Regions from separate parts of the Homo sapiens genome. Here region 2 is linked to region 1. Evidence: promoter capture Hi-C in human tissues and cell types (Jung and others, 2019). All regions are on one chromosome and are shown on one strand. Each heading gives the region's core, a stretch centred on a gene start or on the middle of the fragment in contact. The rest is flanking DNA. Distances are from core to core; before and after follow the strand shown. Region 1 holds the start of TYSND1 (trypsin like peroxisomal matrix peptidase 1). Region 2 has its middle 8.5 kb from the start of COL13A1.

Region 1 (6,002 bases), core at 2,573-5,072:
AGCTGGGGACACCTGTGTTACAGCAGGACTCACACTCCCTAACTCCCATCCCTACCCTCTCCAAACATTCCAAACCTCTCCACCCTTCAAGTTTCTGCTCAGATACTCCTGCCTCCAGAGAGCCTTCCCCATGTCCCCTGGCTGGAAGAGGCTGAGAACTCCACTGAGCTCCTAGCACTGTATCTGCATGACCACTTCTGAGCAACAGGCTGTTCCCTAGTCCTTGTTCCCTGGACAGGCGGGGCAGTGACTTTTAGGAGTTCCTAACACCTACCTACATGCTCAATAAATGTTTGTGGAATTCACACCCATCTCCTCCTGGAACTCCTAAGAAGTCTCTTCGTGAAAAGAAATGGTGATGATGGCTATAATGCAGCCATGACCTTCCTTTTCCAAGTGCAGGGTATGGGGGTAAGTGCTTTACAGGCAACGTCACACCCAGCCCTCACAACACCCAGAAATAGGATGCATTAGCCCCATTTCAAAGACGTGGAAAATGAGGCAGAGGATAGTTAACTAGCCTGTCCAAGGACATGGGACTAATAGGTGGCATAGGAAAGATGCCCATCCAGAGCCCCTGGACCCTTCATCACTGTATCACACTGCCTCCATGGAGTGCAACATCAGTACTTATGTGGCAGCATCACAAAGCCTTTTACCCAAATCGTGCCCCTGGAGCCTTGAAAGTGCCACATGCCTCTCTGACCAGCCTGAAGTGTTAAGGAACCCCAAAGGCCCAGCATCCTCACACTACATTGCTGCAGGCACTCGGGGAAAGGGCGTGCAGCATTATCCTTCCCAGGGCACTCCATGTGCCCCACCAGCACAAAAAGGGAGGCAGGCCTCCAAGGACCTTGACCAATGCTACCCTGACTTCATGAGAATGCCCAACACTGATTCTCCTTCCTGAGGCCCACCCTAGCTCAGAGGGGCCCTCCTTCAGGCTGCGCCCTTCGTCCTTTACCTTCATGGAAGTGCTCAGCGGGCACAGGGATGGGGACATCATCCAGGTCCTCCTCCAGGCTCACCACTGCTATGTCATAGGGACATGTCTCCTGAGTGGCAAATACCACACGGCCCCAGATGGCCACACTCCTGGGAGCAAGGGAAACAAATGACAGGCTAGCTTTCTGACTCCTCAGTACTTGGGAGAAATCAAGGAGCTGAGAGTGACAGTAAAAGTCAGAAGATCTGGGTATCAGCCCTGAATCGACCAGCAGGCAACTCTGGGCAAGTCATGTAACCATTCTGTGGTATCTCCAAAGGTGGTTGACAAACTGTGCTACTTCTCTAAAGCTTCCTGTACCTGAATAATCAACCTGACACTTAGTGAGCACTGTGGGCCAGGTTTGGTGTTAGTGTTTTGTGGACATCACTTTATTTAGTCTTCACGACCCTATAAACTAGGCACTGGCATTATCTCCATTTTAGGTGGTATAACTGAGGCCCAGAGACGCTCAGTAACATTCCCAACACCAAACAAAGTGGGAGGAGCCAAGGCAAACACAACACTTTCCTTCACTGCCTCGTTGATACCCACAACAATCCCGTCAGTTGGTGGGTCAGATATGACATGGTTTCACTCCTCTGGGTCCCTATTTACGTACACGCTAACACTTCTGTAGCACACGACGTGACAGGCTCCGTTCCACGACATTCAGCGTCAACTCCCGGGGAGGCAGCTTAGACAGGTTAAGTGACTTGCCCGGGATCAGACAGGGGCGTCCTACTACACACTCTGCAGGGGTAGCTTCCAACAGACCTGGCAGTCTCCTTAGGAGCAAGGGGCATGTGGGGGGAGTGGAAGGAATCTGGTGGGGGCCACACACCATAGGCAAACCTTCATCATCAGTCTTCCCTATAAAGTCATGGCTGTCCTATAGGCCACAGTGGGGACACCTATGGCAAAACTGGGCAGTGTTACCCACACCTGGCTAAGCTTGGGGATTCAGGAAGAGATTTGGAAAAGCCTGGGCTGCAAGGCTGGGCTGAACCATGTACAGCTGCGTGGGCCACCCCCCTACCTTCTGATTACGTAGAAACTCACGTTTCACTCAGACGGGAAGCTCTGGCTAAGCACTAAAAGATGGATAAAATTAACATACCCATCTCCTTACCCCAGGAGAGCACCATCCTGGGCCTCTGGGACCTTATCACTTTCAGAGGAGAAGCAGCAGGGTTAGGGAATCTCTGTTCAAAGGGCCAGAGAACCGAGGGGTATGGCGTGCAGGGCTATCAGACAGTGAAGCTGCCCAGAAGAAACTCAGCCTTTGAGGGGAGCTCAAAGATGCCCTGTTCCGGATTCAGGGTGTCCCACAGTACCCAAATCCAGAGCTGCTTCGAGCTTGACACCTTGCCCCAGATTCTCCCCACAGGGGTTCTGGGTATAAAGGATGAGGGGAGGGTTCCAGGTCTCTACCCACTACACGCCCAAAGCATCCGCGTGACACAAGAAAGGCCTGCACAATACTCAAGAGTATTAGGGCTGGACCCAGATCTGAGACCTGGAAAGGGATGAAGTGGCGTCAGCCCTGCGGGCTTACTTGGGGGTGGTGGAGCGCACCAGGACCCTGGCTGCTTCCCGAGGGGACACGTGCCGACAGGTCACTACAAGGCGGGGTGCCACAGCCACTCCGGAGCCCCATACGGTGCCGCACTCCACCAACACTGCCGCGGCTGCCCACAGGGGCCCGGAGTCTCGGAGGGGCAGACCCCACGGGACGCCCACCTCTGGCGGCAGAAGGGCGGCCAGGGCAGCGGTGCTGTGCGGCAGGCGGTGAAGCGCGTCGCGGGCGGCGCGGAAAAGGGGGGCGGCGGCGCAGAGCAGCGTGAAGCCCACCCATTCGCCGGCCTTCCAACAGAGCGGCGCCACCACCAGCGCCACCAGCGCCCCCGCGGGCCGCGCGGTGAACACGCCGCCGCCCTCGGTGCCGGGCAGGCAGCGTGCGTCGGTAAGCAGCAGTGGGCCGGCCACGTTGCTGAGCACCCCGCAGCTCAGCGTGTTGAGAAAGATGTCGGGGCAGAAGGCGCCGAAAGGGGAGCCGCAGACCAGCAATGGCGCACCCTTGGGCACGGCCCCGAGAGGCGACACCGCCATGGCTGGCCCGCGCTCCTCCTCCACCTCCTCCTGGCCTAGCCGCACGCCCAGCAGCGCAAACCAGCCCAGCGCTCTCAGTTGATCCGCCTCCTCGTCCTCCGACACTTCGTCATCCCGCGCCGCGCTCGAGAAGCGCCACTGTTCCGCTGCCTCGTCCCCGAAGAGGCGCGCGAAGTGGGCCCAGAAGGCCGGGCAGCTCAGCAGCAGCAGCAGCTCAGCAGGAAGCCGGGGCTGCAGGGGACGCCCGCGGGACGGGGCAGGTGGGCCGGGCTCGAGGCTCGCGCACTGGGGCGTGCACAGCCCTGGGCGGCCCCGCTCCGCGCCGCCCCCGGGACCCGCGGCCGTTGGGGCCCACTGCACGTGCAGGCGCAGGTCGTCCCTGCAACTGTCGCCAGGCAGGAAGACGGCGCCGGCCGCGGTCAGGACTTCGCTGCCAGCTCGCAGGAAGGGGACGAAGATGCCCCCGTGGCAAAGCACCAGGCCCGGGCTACGGCTCAGGATTACCCCGCTGCAGCTCCACGGGCCCGCCTCGGGCTGTCCGGCCCGGGAGGCGCTCACCATGCAGCCCGCCTGCTCGGCCGCCCTCATGGCAGACCCCCACTGCCTTCTCATGGCCTCTAGGCCGGACACTCGGGAGCTTCTCCGAGAAACAGCAAGCTAGCGAGCGAGGACCCCTACCCGGTCCGGCTGAAGCTGCCTAGCGCCACCCACAGCTGGAAGCGAGAGGCGCAAGCTCTGACTCACGTCTTCCTCATCGAGCCCGATTGGCTAAGCCCCAATTGACCCGACCCGATTGGCTGGGCTTGTACCGAGCTCTGATTGGCTTCCTATTCTGATTTTTTTTTTCCTTTCCCCGCCCTCGTTAGTTTGTCCAACCGGTGGGACATAATCTGCCCCATTCCCCCGGATGAGCCCCGGGGAGAGTAAGAGGAGTGCGGCGTCACGAGGAATCAGAGGAGAGGAGGGTGGGTCCCTTCAAGCCTAGTCTCGTTTGCTGGAATGTGGGAAAGGGAATAGAAATGAGCGCTGACGTGCCTAGATTTGCCCAGGCCACGACAGTACCTGTGAGCATCTGCCCAGGTCTAGGCGACCTTCAGCCTCTGACCCTTGGGATAATATGGACCAAGGAAATCCTTGGCCAATTCAGTGTTTTGAAAATTTAAAAGTAAACCCTATAGCAATCCACTAGGGGGCATGGAACTCTCAAGATTACTCCTAGGATTTTTTTTTGCTGCCAAAGCCCCAACACAAATCTCCGAGAAACTGGATTTGCTGTAAATTAAATTGCCCTTTAAATCGACTATGAACAGTAGCTGAAATCAAAAATTTTAATCATACAGGCCTATATTTTACAGTGTGCACATTTCACATAACATAACCACCAGCCAGGATTTATCTAGGCCAGGGTCCAAATACTTTCTGTAGAAGGCCAGAATGGAAACAGTTCCAGTTTGGGGGGACCATACAACTTGTCTCAAATAGTCAACTCTGCAGCTGTTGCATACAAAAGCTAAAGGAATGGCGGTGGCTGTGTCCCAATAAAAAGATACAGACATTGAAATTTTAATTTCATACAATTTTTTGTGTCCAAAAATAGCATTCTTTAAATATTTTTTCCAACCATTTAAATATGTAAAAACCTTTCTTTGCTCACAGGCCATACAAACACAGGCAGCAGGCCCGATTTGACCCACAAGGCATAGTTTACCATCTCTAGTGTACACTAACATAAACTGCTCTACTTTTCCAAAGAAGTACGCTTTAGGACAGAGGAGGATGAACGAGTATGTCGGGGAGTGGGGGGGCGCGGAGCTTCATGATACCCTCAATCAGTCACCACAAGCTAGACAGTTTACAAAGGTCTGCTTTATCACTGAATTGATAAAATACACATTATTTTTTATTTATTTATTTATTTTTTTGAGACGGAGTCTCGCTCTGTCGCCCAGGCTGGAGTGCAATGGTGCGATCTCCGCTCACTGCAAACTCCGCCTCCTGGGTTCACGCTATTCTCCTGCCTCAGCCTCCCCAGTCGCTGGGACTACAGGCGCCTGCCACCACGCCCAGCTAATTTTTTGTATTTTTAGTAGAGACGGGGTTTCACCGTGTTAGCCAGGATGGTCTCGATCTCCTGACCTTGTGATCCGCCCGCCTCGGCCTCCCAAAGTGCTGGGATTACAGGCGTGAGCCACCGTACCCGGCCATCATTAATTTTTATTAAGGTTACTGTATTGCTTACCATATACAATTGCTACTTAAATTCTCTAATCTTTCTGCCTGAATTCTTTAAATAAAGTTAACACTGCTTGGTATAACCCCAGCACAACACAGGATAATGCTCCCAGTACTCCCAGTGACACAAACCTGCTAGAGAAAGGAAAACGATTATCCATGATAGTATGAGGCAGGAATAAAATTAGGCCATCTTGCCATAGCAGGCGGTCTTCTTTTGGTTCTATGACACAGAAGGTGGCTTGATCACAGCACAATTTCTTTATCCCAACTTCCTAGCAATCAAAGAGTTTTTCTCTTGGTGGAGCACAGGGGCTCACACTTGGAATCCCAGCACGTTGGGAGGCTGAGGTAGGAGAATTTCCTGAGCCCAGGAGTTTGAGACCAGCCTGGGCAACATGATGAGACCTTAACTCTACAAAAATTTTGAAAACTAGCTGAGCACGGTGGTGCAACCCTGTGGTCCCAAGCTACTTGGGAGGCTGAGATGGGAGGATCACTTAAGCCCAGGAGGTCAAGGCTGCAGTGACCTATGTTCATACCACTGCACTCCAGCCTGGGCGACAGAGTGAGACCAACTCAAAAAACAAACAAACAAACAAACAAACAAACTTTCTCTCTCGAGTCCAGTGATTCTCCCTCAACGCTCAAGACTCCAGCATGAACTGTTAGG
Region 2 (6,002 bases), core at 1,901-4,400, 350 kb before region 1:
CCTGGTTTTTCTCATCTGTTAAATGGGGAAATAGAAATACCTACTCTCGTGCAGATTTCATCTTGCGAGATGATGTGTATAGTAAAGCACTTAGAACAGTCCATAGTAACGCTTAACAAAAATTAGTTATTATTATTCTCCAGAAGTGACTCATTTTCACCAAGTAGACCACGGTGAACAAATATTCACAGATATACACAGCTGAAGTGTAAATGGTCAGACATAAGACACAGTGCTTTTTTATGATTGTTCTCCCACTGACCAAAAATGCAACCCCTACACCCAAGTTCATCTTGCCTGTTGTTTGAACCTGGCTACTCCTCTTGACTAGAGGCACTTGGAATTCTCAAAAGGACCTGATGGGGTTAGGGACCCCAGGTCTCTCTGTTCCGGAAGGTTTCAATATAATTCTGAAGCTCTATGGGATACCACCTGTGGTCCTTCTACCCCTCCAGGTCCAGGTTTAGCTAGGAGTTACCCAGCTTAAAAAAGAACCAGCACCTGCCATCTTGGAAGAATTTGTTCTCTCTTTCTAGGTGGTCCTTTCTTGGGTCGTTTGGGCCTGTGTTTCTAGGCTGGCAAAGCCTTGGCATCTTCATGATCCTCACTACCAATCACACCACCAATGTGACATCATCACCAATGTCATCCATCAATGCCACCATTTAATCTAAACCATGATTACCATCACTTCTGTTAGCAGCAACACCATCCCATCCCACAACCACCTCCATCACTGATGTTGCCTTCACCTTTTTCATCTTCCTCTCAGCCATTGTCACTGTTAGGATCTCTCTTACATGATCATCTTTGCACTTTCAAGATCACCTATGCTCAGGGCCAGACAGAACCCTTTGGTAGTAAGTAACGGAAATCCAAGTCCACTGACTTAAGAAAAGAGATGGAAAGGATTGTAGTTCACAGATCTAAACTAGAAAGGGTGAGACTGTCCGAGGGATGACTGTGCCCAAGGGACTCAAACACCAACAGAAAGCTTTCATTTTCTCCATCTCTCATCTCCACTTCTCTCCAGAGTCAATTTTATTCTCTTCTGCAGACAAACTCTTGTCTATGTGAGCTTCATGGATTTATACACAGCTGCATAGTGACTCAAAAGCAAAAGAATTTCTATCTCCCAAGCTCTGATTGAAAAATTCTAATGGAAGTCCCTGGTTGGTTTCACTTGGCCATCCTTTGGGCCAATCATAGTGGCTAGAAATGTGTGGTTCTGTGATTGACCCTGCTTGGTCGTGTGCCTAGTAAAAACATGGCAACTGGGGGAAACTTGGTGAACAGGTGAGTACTCTACTTTACGTTGACATACATCCCATTCACCACCATCACCAGCACCACCACCAGCACCGCTGCCATCACCACCACCGCCCTCACTGCCACTGCCATCACCACCTCACCATTATCACCACTACCACCATCACCACCACCACCATTATCTCCACTGTTGCCATCACTGCTACCACCACCATCATCACTACCACCATTACCATCATCATCACTATCATCACCACCACCACCACCGTCACCACCATCTCCACCACCATCACCACCACTACCACCATCACCACCACCATTATCTCCACTACTGCCATCACCGCCTCCACCACCATTACCACTACTATCATTACTATCATCATCACTATCACCACCACCACCACCACCCACCATCACTGCCACTGCCGTCACCATCACCACCACCCACCGTCACCACCACCACTGCATCACCACCACTACCACCACCACCAGCATCATTATCACCACTACTGCCATCACCACCACCATCACCACCACTATAACCACCACCACCACCACCGCCACCATCATCACTCTTTTTCTGAGAACTATAATGTGCCCAGCCTTGAACTTCACATTTGAACTACACAAATATGAGTTTGAAGAAATCTCCAGCCCTGCAGGAATTTACTGTCTCTGGAAACAAGAAAGTTGACTTGTTCAAGGAGCTAGACTTCTAGTCCTTGGCCACAGGATGGGAGCAAAGAGGGAAGCTGTAGGGGCAGCATCTGGCACCTCTTCAGCACTGGCCCTAAGCCCTGAACAGACCCAGAGTCCTTGGAAGCTAACAAGCCTGTGCTGTGATGGCCAGGCCACTTGGCAAATAGCTGCCTGTGCCCAGCCAGGAACTGGAGCCATTCCTTCATACTCACAAAGTTCCCACCCCAGCCCACTGCCCTGTGCTCTACCAGAGCCCTCAGCACATCTGCCCTGTTCCCTCGGGGGCTGGGACTTGCTTTTGGCTCTATTCCCCCTACTCCTGCTCCACCTCTGAGCAAACATCTGTTTCTAGACGTTGTCCTAGAGCCTAATAAAGTCTCGGAAAGGCCCAAGTTAATATATCCATAGACCTGCCTGTCAGCAGCTAGCTAATGTCAGGAACAGAGCACTCAAGGAAAGCAAGACCCCTCGTTTCCTGATGGGGGTGGAGTGTACGGGAAAGATAAACAGGGCATCCCTCCCCATTTCAGAAATGACCTTAACAAAGCAACAGCTTTTAGGAAAAAGAGAAAAGAAAAAAATGGCCTTTGTAATGAGGTTTATGGGAACAAATGTTTCAGGTGGTTCTGCCTTCACAGCTACTGCTGGGGAAAGAGCTGGAGGGAGAAGAGCTCAGTCATGAGTGCAAAACCTCCTGTGGATTAACTGGCCCTTGGCCACAGTCCAGACAATGGGCTGAGCCTGAACCTGGGGGCTGTGAGTTGCCTGGCAGGGAAAAGACCTGCCCTGAGTGGCAGGTCTGGTTCTGCCACTAGTATGCTGGGTAACCTTGGACCACATTCTGACCTCTCTGTATTCAGTTTCTGCAGATGCCACATACTAGTGGAGCCTTGGAGGATTGACAAAGGTCCTTCTGGGCAAGGGGTGGGGGTGCCCCACACTTCAAACCAGGAGAGTAGCCCCTAAGATAAGATCTGACTACTGAGTTCTGTGGTCAAGACCAAGAGTTCCACAGTGGTGGGGGCGGGCAGAGGGTTGGGGGACAGGAAAGAGAGCAGAGACACAATGCTATAACTTGCATACCTCAAATTCTGGTAAGCGGGGATCTGGATCAGTAAACTAATTGGGCTCTTCATTATCCATCGGTCATCAACCAGAAACATCTGTCTCTTAAACTGCAGTTGCCCACCTTTCCGACAGCTCTTCCTGCCTGTCAGGGAGAGCTCAAGTCCTGCGTCCTTCTCCGAGCACATAATTGGGGCGCCCTTCCACTAACTCTGAGGCCTAGATTCTGAGCCCTTGTTTCCATGGACTGACAGCTCTGAGGGTCTGTGTTTCACTCTCACTCCTTAACCGATTGTTCTTTCTCCAGCAAGCTGCAAATCAGGCCCTAATGGCTGCATTTGCTTGTGGTTTCTGATGCCTGGTTGCAGCACGACCATCACCAACATCTCTTCTGTATTTTGCACTTGATTAGGGCTTTGCACACATGATCTCATTTGAGTCTTCCAGCATTCCCCTAAGTAAGAATTCATCTTCCCCTGCCTGGGCAGGAGAAGGTTCCAGAGAGGTTAAGGCATTTACCAAAAGGCACACAATTTGTAGATAAAGAAGCAAAGCTTCTGGTGCTTTGTTTCAACTCAAACTGAATCAGCAAAATGGTTTCATCTCAAGTACTAATCTCACTAGATTGATAATAGCTTTCTGCTTTGAGGGGCATAAGGGATTGTGTGTGTGTGTGCGTGTGTGTGTGTGTGTGTGTGTGTGTGTGTGTGTATGGTGGGAGTGGTGTTCTGTAGTTGATTAGTGATGTCTGCCAGTGGCATGGGAAGTATTGGCATGTGTGTGAAACACGACCAGACCATACCACTTAAGAAGAATGGAAGGTCAGGTGTTTGGGGTTATTGGGGTTCAGGAGGTCACATGATGCACCCAGGCAAGGATGGACCACATAACCTTGGAACTTCTGCTCTATTCTCCCAGTCCCTTTCTTTGTCTGGATCCTGCCATGCTCCAAGGACCAGCTTAGAATTCACCTCTTCCAGGAAGCCTTCCTGAACCTTCACTTCAACTCTAAGTCTCCACCCACTTCCCTTCTCTGAGTCCCAAGGCACTAATCATCTGCCTACTTGTTTGGCCTTCAGCTTATGCTGCCTGGCACTGCTGTTCTTTCTTCTGCACACATAAGTCCCCACAGATGCCCCTCAGGACTGTGAGTTCTGTGAGTACCTAACTCTGGGTTTTGCTCCCACTAGGAGGCTCAATAATAAATGCAGACTAATTTATATCAATGACCTAGACCGTGCAAATGGGCAAGCAGTAGCCCTCCTCTCCACTGCCAGAACACAGGGCTTGAGAGGAGGCAAGAACCCCTGTTTGGTTTTTATTGTACATGCCCAGTCTCTACAGTTATTACAATGTCAAGGTTGGCTTCCATGAACCTAGTCCTGACTCAGCACTTTGCATCCACTATTGCATCCAATCCTCACAATAACTCTAGGAGATAGGAATTCTTCTCCTTATAGTTCATGCTTTAAAAAACAGATGCAGAGAGGCCACATAATTTGCAAAGTCACATAGGGAGCACACAATGGAGCCAGAACCTGAAACTACCTGAAATAGCCTCCAAGTGAATAGAAAATTAGTTTCAGAGCCATCTACACCTGGCCTTGGAATAAGGCAAGGTAGGTGCCAGGTAGGAGATTTCTGCTGAATTACTCTCAAACCATCCAGGTCCAGAGGGATATGGGCTGCTTAGTACCTCCAGCTGCTCCTGGAAGAAGTCAACAAAAGACAGTGGGTCTGGGCAGCATCTGGGCACTGGGGTTGACAGCTGGGCATGGGCTTTGCTAACCACAACATTCCCCAAATCCTACTTTTCAGGGTCAAATAATCCTCTAGACAGATCCAGTAGCCCACCCTACCAGGCATTCATTCTTGCTCAGGTAAACACTTACATTTGTGGACCTTACATCCTGGTATTCATGACATTGATTAGTTTCTTCCCACATGACTCTGGGCTTGGCCATGTGACTTGTTTTGGCCAATGAGACATTAGCAATTGTCGCACAAGCAGAGGCATGATAAGCAGTCTTGGAACACTCCTCATGAAAGCCAGCCCCCATGCTGGCTCAGGATAAACTATAGCCATATTGCCTAGAGCAGAAGAACCTTTTGGCTGAGCCCTGTCAATACACATAATCATAAAAAATAATAAATCACTGTTTAAACCACTAAGTTTTGGAGCAGTTTGTTATGCAGCTAGAGATGACTGACATACTGTCCCTAGTTATGGCTACCATCATTCTTAGACATGGTTGGGGTCCTGACCATGCTGGCTCAGGATAGACTATAGCCATACTACCTGAAGCAGAAGAACCTTTTAGCTGAGCCCTGTCAATACACAGAATCATAAGAAATAATAAATCATTGTTTAAATCACTAAGTTTTGGAGCAGTTTGTTATGCAGCTATAGATGACTGATATATTGTCCCTAGTTATGGCTACCATCATTCCTAGACATGGTTGGAGTCCTGACCATTCAGAAGCACCTACATGCTCTTGTATATGCATCTCAACCAAAGTAGATTACATACATAGAGCTTAGCACACTTCCCTTTCTGCCAACGCACACAAACACTCATACACACACACAGGGAATGGCTTGGAGCCAACTCATGTGTACCTTGAGGCAGCCCTGGTAACCCACAGCATTTGCACTCCCCTACATATGCCTGCTTGACTGTGTGTGCAGAAATGTGCACGATCTTCTGTGTCGCAAAACACAAGAGCAGAAAAGGCATGTACACACCCCAAAATCTTACATTGATGGCAGATGGGAGTCACACACACACGCGTGAACATGGTCACTCACGGCCTGAAACCATAAGCACCCAAAGGTGCAGAAAACAGGAGAGTGAAGAAGCCCTCAGTCCTTTTCCTCTGCACTCCACATTTCAGCCTTGGTGAACCACTTGGCTTCCCCAAAGCACTATGCACTTTCTCACCTACAGGCCTTTGCACAGGTAGGTTCC

Evidence for each region. Contacts are between HindIII fragments. The study calls those that stand out against the background at their distance.
Region 2: a fragment that was not itself captured here is called in contact with the fragment with the promoter of TYSND1 in region 1 in 1 of the 25 tissues and cell types used here (IMR-90 fibroblasts).

The regions. Positions count from the first base shown.
Region 1 is chr10:70,142,878-70,148,879 of GRCh38, forward strand. TYSND1 (trypsin like peroxisomal matrix peptidase 1) reads right to left here and starts at 3,823. Exons shown (of 4, transcript NM_173555.4): 1 at 2,544-3,823; 2 at 965-1,095. The coding sequence starts at 3,709. It overlaps SAR1A (secretion associated Ras related GTPase 1A), which reads right to left. Exons shown (of 7, transcript NM_020150.5): 7 at 4,412-6,002. RefSeq lists silencers at 2,725-2,954, 3,285-3,594 and an enhancer at 3,085-3,134. The HindIII fragment of the contact is 18,753 bases long and covers 1,618-6,002 here.
Region 2 is chr10:69,790,449-69,796,450 of GRCh38, forward strand. No RefSeq gene overlaps it. Among named protein-coding and RNA genes, the nearest start is that of COL13A1, 8.5 kb to the right of the region's middle. The HindIII fragment of the contact is 5,520 bases long and covers 391-5,910 here.